Linked DNA regions of Homo sapiens: regions 1 and 3 are each linked to region 2. The links are contacts of gene promoters, found by promoter capture Hi-C in human tissues and cell types (Jung and others, 2019). All regions are on one chromosome and are shown on one strand. Each heading gives the region's core, a stretch centred on a gene start or on the middle of the fragment in contact. The rest is flanking DNA. Distances are from core to core; before and after follow the strand shown. Region 1 overlaps LARGE1 (LARGE xylosyl- and glucuronyltransferase 1). Region 2 holds the start of HMGXB4 (HMG-box containing 4). Region 3 overlaps LARGE1 (LARGE xylosyl- and glucuronyltransferase 1).

Region 1 (3,501 bases), core at 493-2,992, 1.5 Mb after region 2:
AGGGTAGGTGATTCACACTAGCCACTCTGGTAGTAATCGGTTAGGGTATTAGAAAGAGTGCTGGATGTGAAACAGGCAGGCCTGGGGTGAGATACTGTTCACCCGTTACTCATCGAGTGACTTTATGAGTTGTGTAACATCTGAATACTTCAGTTTTCTAATTCATAAAATGGATGGCTAATTTAAGTGGGGTGTGTGTGTATATATATACACATATATACGTATATATACACATATGCACATATACACATGCATATATACACATATGTATGTATACACATATATGTATATACACATATGTATGTATACACATATATGTATATACACATATGTATGTATACACATATATGTATATACACATATGTATGTATACACATATATGCATATACACATATGTATGTATACACATGTATATACACATATGTATGTATACACATATATCTATATACACATGTATGTATACACATATATGTATATACACATATGTATGTATACACATATATGTATATACACGTACACATATGTATGTATACACATGTATATACCCATGTACACATGTATACACGTGTATATACATATATGTATATACACACACATATAATATACAGTATATATACTGTACAAATATAGTATAAATACGTACAAATATAAACTGTCTATGTGTGTATATTATACATATATGTGTATATACATATGTGTATGTGTGTATGTATACTATATGGTATACATACTGTATGAATATATGGTATATATATTGTTTATGTACAAATATAAACTCTGTATGTGTGTATATAAATAAAATAAAGATTCATTTTGTGCATATTAGTACCTGTGACTGTCTCCTGAAAGCAGAACAGACTTCTTTGAGGGTAGAATGCCACTTTTATTCTAACTTTTCAATACATTATTGATCTTGCACCGGAGCACCTAAACTCTGAACTGGTTTAAAAAGTGAATTAGGGCACTAGAAATCCTTACCTTCCATTTTTGTTCCCTCAAATTTAAGCGAGAAGTTAGTAGTTCTTTAGTTAACTTCCAGGAGCTCCCACGCTATACACAGGCCATATGGTGACAAATAGACATTCTGGAGTCAGATTGCTGGGTTTATATTTTTGTTCCATCATTTACTGGCTTGTGACTTCGAGCAAATTGCTTTATTTCCTCTTCTATACATTGGGGATAGTATTAACTAATTTACAGGGTTGGATTTTAGTAAGACAACGTATGTGAAGCACTCATGTATGTAGAGCTTGGCATTGCAGAAAGATACTGCTCAGTATATGATAGAAAATACTACTGCAAGTCGTAATGTTATTGGTTTATTCATTAGCAGAAAGCAATTGTTGCAGTTGTTAAACAAAACGAAACGAAAAGCCATTCTAATTAAGCAGAGTCTAGTGAGAGCTCAGAGGAGTCTGAGTTGGTTTTACCAAAGAGGAGGTCTCTGAAGGATGGATTGGAGGTAATCTTGGATCTGCCATGCACTAAAAGGGGAAAAAGAAAAAAGAAAGAGAGAGATTGTCTTAGTGATTTGGAACTGATTGGCCTTACCAACTTGGAAGCTCCTTTTAAACACATAGGTCCTTTTTAGAGCCCATTGAGGAAAGACCACTCTAATCTCCCTCTACCGCCCACTACTTCCACTACTTCCAGTAGAGCCTGGTGGTCAATAACCACCAGGGAAGTTAGAGCCCGTTCTGCAGCAGTGATTGTCAGAATCATGCAGTGGCACCAGCACTGCCATTCTCTTATCCTGCGACCATATCCTTGGCTGGGTTGCAAGCAATTTCTCATATGTAGTAGGCCACAATGGATACTTGTTTGATTAAATCAACAACAACAACAATAACAACAAAACACTGCTCTTCTGTCTGGAGAGTACTTTTAGTAGACACCTCTTCTTCCTTTCATGATAACTCTCCATACAAATTTGTGTTTTTTGAGATGGAGTTTCGCTCTGTTGCCCAGGCTGGAGTGAAATGGCATGATCTCAGCTCACTGCAACCTCCGCCTCCCAGGTTCAAGCGATTCTCCTGCCACAGCCTCCCAAGTAGCTGGGATTACAGGCACCCGCCACCATGCCCAGCTAATTTTTGCATTTTTAGTAGAGATGGGGTTTTGCCATGTTGGCCAGGCTGTTCTCGAACTCCTGACCTCAGGTGATCCACCGCCTCAGCCTCCCAAACAAATTTTTAAATATCTCAGCCTTCTAGTCCCTTTTCCCATGATTTGGCTATAATCTCAAACTGCTCTTGCAAATTTTTTTTTTTTCTGAAGAAACATAGTGCTCAAAGAGACTCTCATCACTCTGATGAGAGAGAAACAGATCCAGTGGATTAACGTGTTTTGCTAAGTGCTGTGATAGGAGACCTAGAAAACAAGCTTTTGGCCCTTTATATGATCTTGAGGGAATCTCCTGACCTTTTGGATACTTAGTCTTTTCGTCTGTAAATTGAGTACCATAGCATTTGTGTCACAGCATTACAATGCCAATTAAATCAGGCCGAAGCACTGTAGTGTATGGCCTGACACGCTACGGTCTGGAAATTTCTCAGGAAAAATAAGGGTGTGATGAGTGGAAGTGGAACACTCCCTCTCTCTCTCTCTTTTTTTTTTTTTTTAAACTTGATTTTGTTTTTTTGGAGACAGAGTCTCACTCTGTTGCCAGGCTGGAGTGCAGTGGCGTGATGTTGGCTCACTGCAACCTCCACCTCCCGGGTTCAAGTGATTCTTCTGCCTCAGCCTCCCGAGTAGCTGGGATTACAGGCACGCACCACCACGCCCAGCTAATTTTTGTATTTTTAGTAGAGACGGGGTTTCACCATGTTGGCCAGGATGGTCTTGATCTCCTGACCTCGTGATGCGCCCGCCTCGGCCTCCCAAAGTGCTGGGATTGCATGCATGAGCCACCGCGCCCAGCCCAATTTGATTCTTTATTTTGGTAGTAGCTAATCTATGTGATGAAGCCCTGACTCTTCATTGTTCTCGTGTCACTGATGTAAAACAACAACACATTTAAATGTGTGTTTAAAATGTACAATTCATATAATGTACAATTTAGTGGTTTTTAGTATTTTCACAAGGTTGTGTGATTGTCACAACGAATTCCAGAACATTTTCCTCACTCCCAAAAGAAACCCCATATGCATTATCAGTCACTGCCACTCTCCTCTTATTCTAGCTCCTGATAACCATGTTCTGTCTCTGTGGATTTGGACTGGGAGAGACATAAAGGATAGGGGCTACTCTCCCTCCCGTCTTAAATGCGTCTCAGTCATGAACCTTGCCATATTTTAGTGCTTTAAACATTTTTAAAAATAGTTGATTTGAGGAGGAGGAGGATAAAACAAACAGCAGAACCCAAAAAGAAGAACTCGGACTCCAGACTTAATTCTATCCTTTGCCCTCTGGCTAACTTTGGATATGCCAATTCTTTGTCTGAGCCTCATTTTCCCCATGCAGATAATTTACATTGTATTAGAGAACTACCTCCTCCCCAAG
Region 2 (3,173 bases), core at 263-2,762:
ACAGTTAAAAAACAGGTTTCAGACTTTTTTTGAGGTAACTTGAGCTCCTGCAATCAACAACCTTCTTCACCCCATAATGTAAATGAGTATCGAAAAAAAGGAAACAAAGTAAGCCCCGTCACACGGACAGTAAGAGAAATTCTGAACTCCAGGTCTGTTCCAGGATGAGAGCCATGTCCAAGATTCTGCATTCTCTTCTTCCAACCACTCCTTTCAAGAACTCAAAATGCCAGTCAGTGCAGGTAAAGGAAGATGCACATCCGCCGGTTGCCAATTTCTGAAATTTTCTTGTTACTTCTACGATACAGACAAGTGATGCCTTCTCAACTTCGTCCAGGTTTCTTCCAATCTCCGAACACGGTGACTCCGAATCCTCTTGCCACTCCCTTCTCCAGGGACCTACCTAGGCAGCACTCCCAGCCCCTGCCAGCTCTGGAAGCTGCAGAGATCCCGACAGTCGGGGATGGGGATTGAATCCTCTCATTGCAGTGCAATTAAGCGGAACCACGACCACCGCACAGATTGGCTGACAACACACATTCCATAAGACCAGCAATCGAATTTTGAGAAGCCTTGTCCAATCAACAGGCTTTATTTGGGATTCAGTTTTTTACTTTGTTCTATTAGGAGGAAATATAATCAGCCACCAGCTTAGCCCTCCAAAAGAGGGGACAGAGATGTTTCTCCGCTTTTGCACGCTATAAAGTGAATCTACAAGTAGTAGTTGGTGGAGGGAAAATGGGCCTGCATGGAGAAGGCGCCCACCACGAAGGCACGGCCAAGCCGGGTTGCACGCAAGAAACACACAAAATACCAGGTGATTTACACAAACAGCCCCCAGGACCACCATTTTTGTGGTCCCCAAGGCAAACCAGTGGGATTCTCCCGGCAGTTTTGCGGCAACAGCTAGCTCAACAAAGCTCTGTGAAGAGGAAAAGAAGAAAGCTCCTCGTACTTTCTCCTGCCAGCCGCAGCCCCAGCCCTCCCGTGGCCGCGGCCACGAGCCCTTTCCCCCTGACAGCCCGAGGGACCCCCGCATCGCGGGTTCCGAGCCGCACAGCTCGACCTGAACCCGGGTTCCCGCGTCTCCGGCGGCCTCACGGCGCCCCCGAGGGCGGAGACGGCCCGGGCAGGGGGAGGGGCGGCCCGGGTCCGCAGGCCCCCGGGGCGGCCGCACGCCCCCTCCCGGCCCCGCAGCTTTCCCGCCTTCCCCGTTTGAACAGCTCCCGCCCGCCCTCCTCCTTCTGCCCGCTCCAGCCCCTTCCTGGGGGCGGCTGCGGCCGCTACTCCAGTCCCCGGCTCGGCCCCTGGGCTAGGCCGCGAAGGGCCTGGGGCACCCCAGAGGTGATGTCGCGGGCCCAGGGCGGCGGGTGGCGACGGGGCGGGGCTGCTGCCGCCTCAGGGTGGGGGCCCAGCCCGGTCTCCTGGGGTCTCCGCTCGCCGCTACCTTCACTCGGCTCGCCCGGATCCCGCCTCAACGCCGCCGATCGCCGCCATCTTGGAGAAGGAGAGAAAAGCGCGAGCGGCCAGGGAGCCTCAGTCGAGCCCAGAGCGCAGACTCGGGCTCCGGAGGGGGAATCCCGCTCGACCAAGAGCGCCGAGCGCATCGAATAAAACTCGGAGCCTGCTGAGCGCGGGAGCTGGCACTTATTTATTGAGAATTTGCTATGTCCCAGCCTTGCCCTAGAAGCTTACAAACATTATTTCACTTAATCCTCACTGTATTCCTGTCGCATTTTGCAGAAGAGAACCAGGCTGAGAGAAGTTAAGTGACGTGCCCAAGGATACACAGGTAGTTGGAATGTGAGACCGAGTATTACTCCAAGTCTTCTGATTCTGAATGCAGTGCTTTCCCCAAAATACTATGCTGTTTCTTTCAAGATATTGTTATACAGCAGTTCTCCTCTTTGCAACACCTAGATCTATGCAGATTAATAGCAGTGTGCTTATTTGGACTTCAGCATCTACATTTGAACATTTGGCATATTAGGGGTGAGGTGAAGAACTTATCTTTGTAACAATGTACAGTAAAATAATTTGCATGGCGAATCATCTACATTTTTTAGTTAGAAACAGTCTTCAGAGAGAGAGAGGAAGAGATGTCATATACAGGCGAGAACACAATTTTTCTGATTTGCCATTGAGAACTTCGACCAATGAGTAGAAATTACAGTGTATAGAACTTGGTTTGATATGAAGAAGAACGCCAGGGGCGGTGGCTCACGCCTGTAATCCCAGCACTTTGGGAGGCTGAGGTGGGTGGATCACCTGAGGTCAGGAGTTCGAGACCAGCCTGACCAATGTGGTGAAACCCCGTCTCTACTAAAAATACAAAAAATTAGCCAGGCGTGGTGGCGCGTGCCTGTAATCCCAGCTACTTAGGAGGCTGAGGCAGGAGAATCGCTTGAACCCGGGAGGCGGAGATTGCAGTGAGCCGAGATTGCGCCACTGCACTCCAGCCTGGGGGACAGAGTGAGACTCCATCTCAAAAAATATATATATATATGAAGAATAACTTATTTTTCTAGTACAGTTCAGTAGTACAATGGGCTTCCTTGTGAGTAGTGAGCTCCCTCCCACTGGAGGAGCGCTCAAGCAGAAGCTGGTGTTACTGTAAAGCAGAGAAGTTAGAGATGTAGATTGGCTTCTAGAGTTGTGAACCCCATGCAACGTAAAATCATGTGTGCAGTGTGTGTTTTCCTAGGGCCCAGGCCCCATAAAAAATTAAGAACCTCTGTCCTAGTGTATTTTCCATTGCAGAGTTGGGTGAGTGCTTGAAGACGAGGTAGTCATGAGACCAATAAAAGCAAGGTGATTTGTCTGAGACCACACTCTAATCAGTGATCAGATAAAGATGAAAAGCCAGATTGTTAGACTCTGGTTCAGTGCTCTTTTTGCTATATCATGCTCTCTCCCCCTCTGCACTGAGTAGAAGATTGATTCTGTTTCTTACAACTGTGAGATGCTGAGATGTTAAAACACCTGAGATAAAGTTGCTGAAATCATTTGCAAAATGTAACTGCAAATACTTAATAAAAGTAGCATGGCCTTTTTCTCCGCAGCTCCCATCCTACTCACCAAAAAGACAGGCAATGAGTTTCACCAAAAGGTGTTAGATTGCATTTCTGGGACACCCTGCCTGACGTTAGGCTTCCCTTTGAGGCATTTAAGAG
Region 3 (3,661 bases), core at 915-3,414, 1.7 Mb after region 2:
AATGTGGATGGAGGTGGGGGAAGAGTGCTAGATATCATGCCGTCTCTAAGAGGGTGAGCTATTTGTAATAAATGTACCTGCTTCTTACCACTTGTTCTTTCCCCACCACCAAATTTCTTAATTTTCCACCTTTTCCTGGGGCTTTCTTTCTGAATACAAACTCATCCCATTGCCTCCTTTACAACTAATTGAACACTTGGACTTAATTGATTATGTATTAAGTTGGGGACTTGGAGTGACATTCAGGACTGGGCTCATGTTGAGATTAATTTATTCCTGTAGTCTTCCTGTTTTGCAGTGTAACTGAGTGCCTCACATGTGTGTTAAAAATAAAACGGAGAGTCAGGGCAATCTAATTAGACAGCTTAACCCATCACTCTCGTGTTCAGTCTTCACCCAGCTCTCCTGCTTTGATGGTAACCAAAATAGATGAATAAGTTAATCAAAGGTCTGATTAAATAGCACAGCTCTGCAGCATGGACTAATGATTGCCAAGCCTCAGTTCAGGCAGATTGCTAGAGGAGAGAGGAAGCTGAGCTGAGCTCCAAAGGCCAGGGCTTTCATGAGGAAGATGTTTATAAAGCACATGGGAGGGAATTCCTCACTGAGTCCTCGGATCTTAACGGTGATGGCTCACTCTAAAGGAAGGATAATGTAGTTTGGGGAAAGAACACAAACCTTCTCCTGGCAAATTCTGACTCTTAGAGCTTTGCATCTTGCTGGCTGTGGGATTGTAGACAAATCGCCCGCCTTCCTATGCCTGCCTGCCATCCATCATCCATCCATCCATCCATCCATCCATGCATTCATCCATCCATCCATCCATCTGTTCCAGATATGTGTTTTGTACCTATTATATACAAGGCATTGTGCTTATTTTTTTTTTTTTTTTTTTGAGACTGAGTTTCGCTTTTGTTGCCCAGGCTGGAGTGCAATGGTGCGATCTCTGCTCACCGCAACTTCCGCTTCCTAGGTTCAAGTGATTCTCCTGCCTCAGCCTCCCGAGTAGCTGGGATTACAGACATGCACCACCACACCCGGCTAATTTTGTATTTTTAGTAGAGATGGCATTTCTCCCTGTTGTTCAGGCTGGTCTCGAACTCCCAACCTCAGGGGATCCGCCCACCTCAGCCTCCTAAAGTTCTGGGATTACAGGCGTGAGCCACTGCGCCCAGCCAGGGCATTGTGCTTTGATTTTGTTGTTGTTCATTTAATTTGCCCTTGTGTTAACTGTATGACTCGGTTGTGTGAGGTTTTTCCTTCTAGGTCCTCTCTTGCCGTAACCCTCACTTTATGCTCCATGAGGCTGATGCATAAAGCATCTCTAGTCTCGCTTTCGCTCTGGTTTCCGTTAGGGTTGACTGGAGGGCTGCCCTCCCGGGAGACTGGTGGGCAGGAGGGAAGTGAGGTTGAGATGTTTTTTCCTGTTCTGGCTTATGCGTTGCCACAGGTAGGCTGTGTCCCTCTGCTGAAGGTCACTGCCTCAGCCAGGTGGCCTTACTCAAACAGCAATTCTCTCTGGATTCCAGCATCTGCTGGCCTGGGCCCTTTTGGCCTTGGGGTGGTAATGGCCCCAAGTACTCTTCCCCTCCTCAAGTAACTGCACGGTTCTTGTTACTGCCCCTAATTCTGCATATACTTAGATTAAATAGTCCTTTTATTAAATCTTCCTTAGATTCCCCAGGAGAGTGTGCTGTTTCCACCCACACACTGCCTGATAGGATGAAGTAAGTGTAGCAACATGGATGGAGCTGGAGGCCATTATCCTAAGTGAACTAACTCAGAAGCAGAAAATCAAATATCACATGTTCTCACTTACAGATGGAAGCTAAACAACGGGCATACCTGGATACAAAGCTGGAAATAATAGACACTGGGGTCTCCAAAAGAGGGGAGGGTGAGAGCTGTGTGAGGGGTGAGAAATTGCCTGCTGGATACAGTGTTCAACATTCAGGTGACAGGTATACTGGAAGTCCAGTCTCCACCATTACACAGTGTACCCATGTAACAAAAATGCGTGTGTACCCCCAGAATCTAAAATTAAAAATTTTTTAAAAAAGAAATCATGACCTTTATAAATAGCAGAAACTCAGAAAAGCTGAGCAAACCTGTCCAAGGTGACATGGCGATTAAGTGATGATACTAGAATCTAAATCCAGGCATGCCTGAATCTACCACCCAGGGTGTTTTGCTCTCCTGCATACATCCCACAGACCCTTACCTTCATCTGGAAGCACCAAAAGAGGCACTGATAGCTAAATACATGGAATAAGATAGAGGGATCAGGAAGAAGGGCGGGAGCTTATTACTGAGTATATTTTGTGTACCACGCCCTTGAGTCCTTTAATATAATTTAATTTTTATACCACTGTGTGAAGTAGGCATCGTCTCCATTTTACCAACTTTTAAAAATGAGCAACTACTCTTAAAAAAAAACTAAGTAACCACATTTTTTTCTAACATCATAGTCTAGTGATGGTGGCACACAGGAGGCCAATTTAGGGCAGCTATGAGACAGGTTCCCCATGCTGACTCATGAGACCCATTCCATCTCTGAAACACACTCCATTTTACAGGTAAAGAAACCAAGGCTTAGAGAGATCAAATGCTTTGTGTGGGGCTAGAGCCCAGATTTGAACTTCTGTCCTTTTTCCCCACCTCCATGATGCCTGGGTGTAGGGTGACAGGGACTCATACACAGAGTTGGGGATGCTTTTTTTGAAATTGATGAGAGGTGAAGCCAGCTGGACTTCCTGGGTCAAATGGGGACTTGGAGAACTTTTATGTCTAGCGAAAGGATTGTAAATGCATCAGTTAGCACTCTGTAAAAATGTACCATCAGTGCTCTGTGTCTAGCTAAAGGATTGTAAACACACACCAATCAGCACTTTATAAAATGGACCAATCAGCACTCTGTAAAATGACCAATCAGTGCTCTGTAAAATGGACCAATCAGCAGGATGTGGGCAGGGAGAAATAAGGGAATAAAAGCTGGCCACCCCAGCCAGCAGCGGCATCCCTCTCGGCTTCCCTTCCAAGCTGTGGAAGCTTTGTTCTTTCGCTCTTCACAGTAAATCTTGCTGCTGCTCACTCTTTGGGTCTGCGCCACCTTTAAGAGCTGTGATACTCACCACAAAGGTCCACAGCTTCACTCTTGAAGTCAGCGAGACCAAGAACCCCCCGGAAGGAGCCAGCTCCGCACACAGTTTGATGTCTTGCTGCTATTTTTTTCTTCCTTTGCATAGATTTGGGTGAATGTGTTTCATTTGGTTTGATTACACGTAGTTGTTTTTAAGTAAAAGCAGTTTTAAAGCTTGCTTTTTTCCCCTTTAACATCATATGCAGGTTTTTAGAAATTATATCTTGATCCACATTGTTTTAAACAATTACATAGTATGCTATCAGAAAAACAAGAGTATCATGTTTGAATTAATTGTTCCATTTTGGGGCATTTTGATGGCTGTTCTTTGGTAACATGGTGATGAACATCTTTGGGAATAAAACTTTGGTGTCTAAAACAAAATTTTTAAATTTGAATTTTTTTAAGAACATCTCCTCAACATGGTATTTGTAAGGTCAAAGGAGATCAATATTTTTTGGAATCCTGAGAAGGTGGCCATGTTCCCTGTTTTAAAGGGTTCTATTAAAAGTGTTACCCTCT

What was found. The method cuts DNA at HindIII sites, captures the fragments that hold promoters and counts their contacts. A contact is called where the count stands out against the background at its distance.
Region 1: a contact is called between a fragment that was not itself captured here and the fragment with the promoter of HMGXB4 in region 2, in 1 of the 25 tissues and cell types used here (dorsolateral prefrontal cortex).
Region 3: a contact is called between a fragment that was not itself captured here and the fragment with the promoter of HMGXB4 in region 2, in 1 of the 25 tissues and cell types used here (lymphoblastoid cells).

The regions. Positions count from the first base shown.
Region 1 is chr22:33,782,005-33,785,505 of GRCh38, reverse strand. The region is part of intron 1 of LARGE1 (LARGE xylosyl- and glucuronyltransferase 1); the gene reads left to right. Among named protein-coding and RNA genes, the nearest start is that of LARGE-AS1, 59 kb to the right of the region's middle. RefSeq lists an enhancer at 2,318-2,818. The HindIII fragment of the contact is 3,854 bases long and covers 1-3,501 here.
Region 2 is chr22:35,255,832-35,259,004 of GRCh38, reverse strand. HMGXB4 (HMG-box containing 4) reads right to left here and starts at 1,512. Exons shown (of 11, transcript NM_001003681.3): 1 at 1,448-1,512. It overlaps LOC105373017 (a long non-coding RNA gene), which reads left to right. Exons shown (of 4, transcript XR_938210.3): 1 at 1-817; 2 at 1,744-1,792. RefSeq lists a silencer at 953-1,452 and an enhancer at 1,718-2,218. The HindIII fragment of the contact is 11,453 bases long and covers 1-2,561 here.
Region 3 is chr22:33,566,001-33,569,661 of GRCh38, reverse strand. All of the region lies in intron 5 of LARGE1 (LARGE xylosyl- and glucuronyltransferase 1), which reads left to right. Among named protein-coding and RNA genes, the nearest start is that of MIR4764, 130 kb to the right of the region's middle. RefSeq lists a silencer at 1-19 and an enhancer at 3,633-3,661. The HindIII fragment of the contact is 6,389 bases long and covers 1-3,661 here.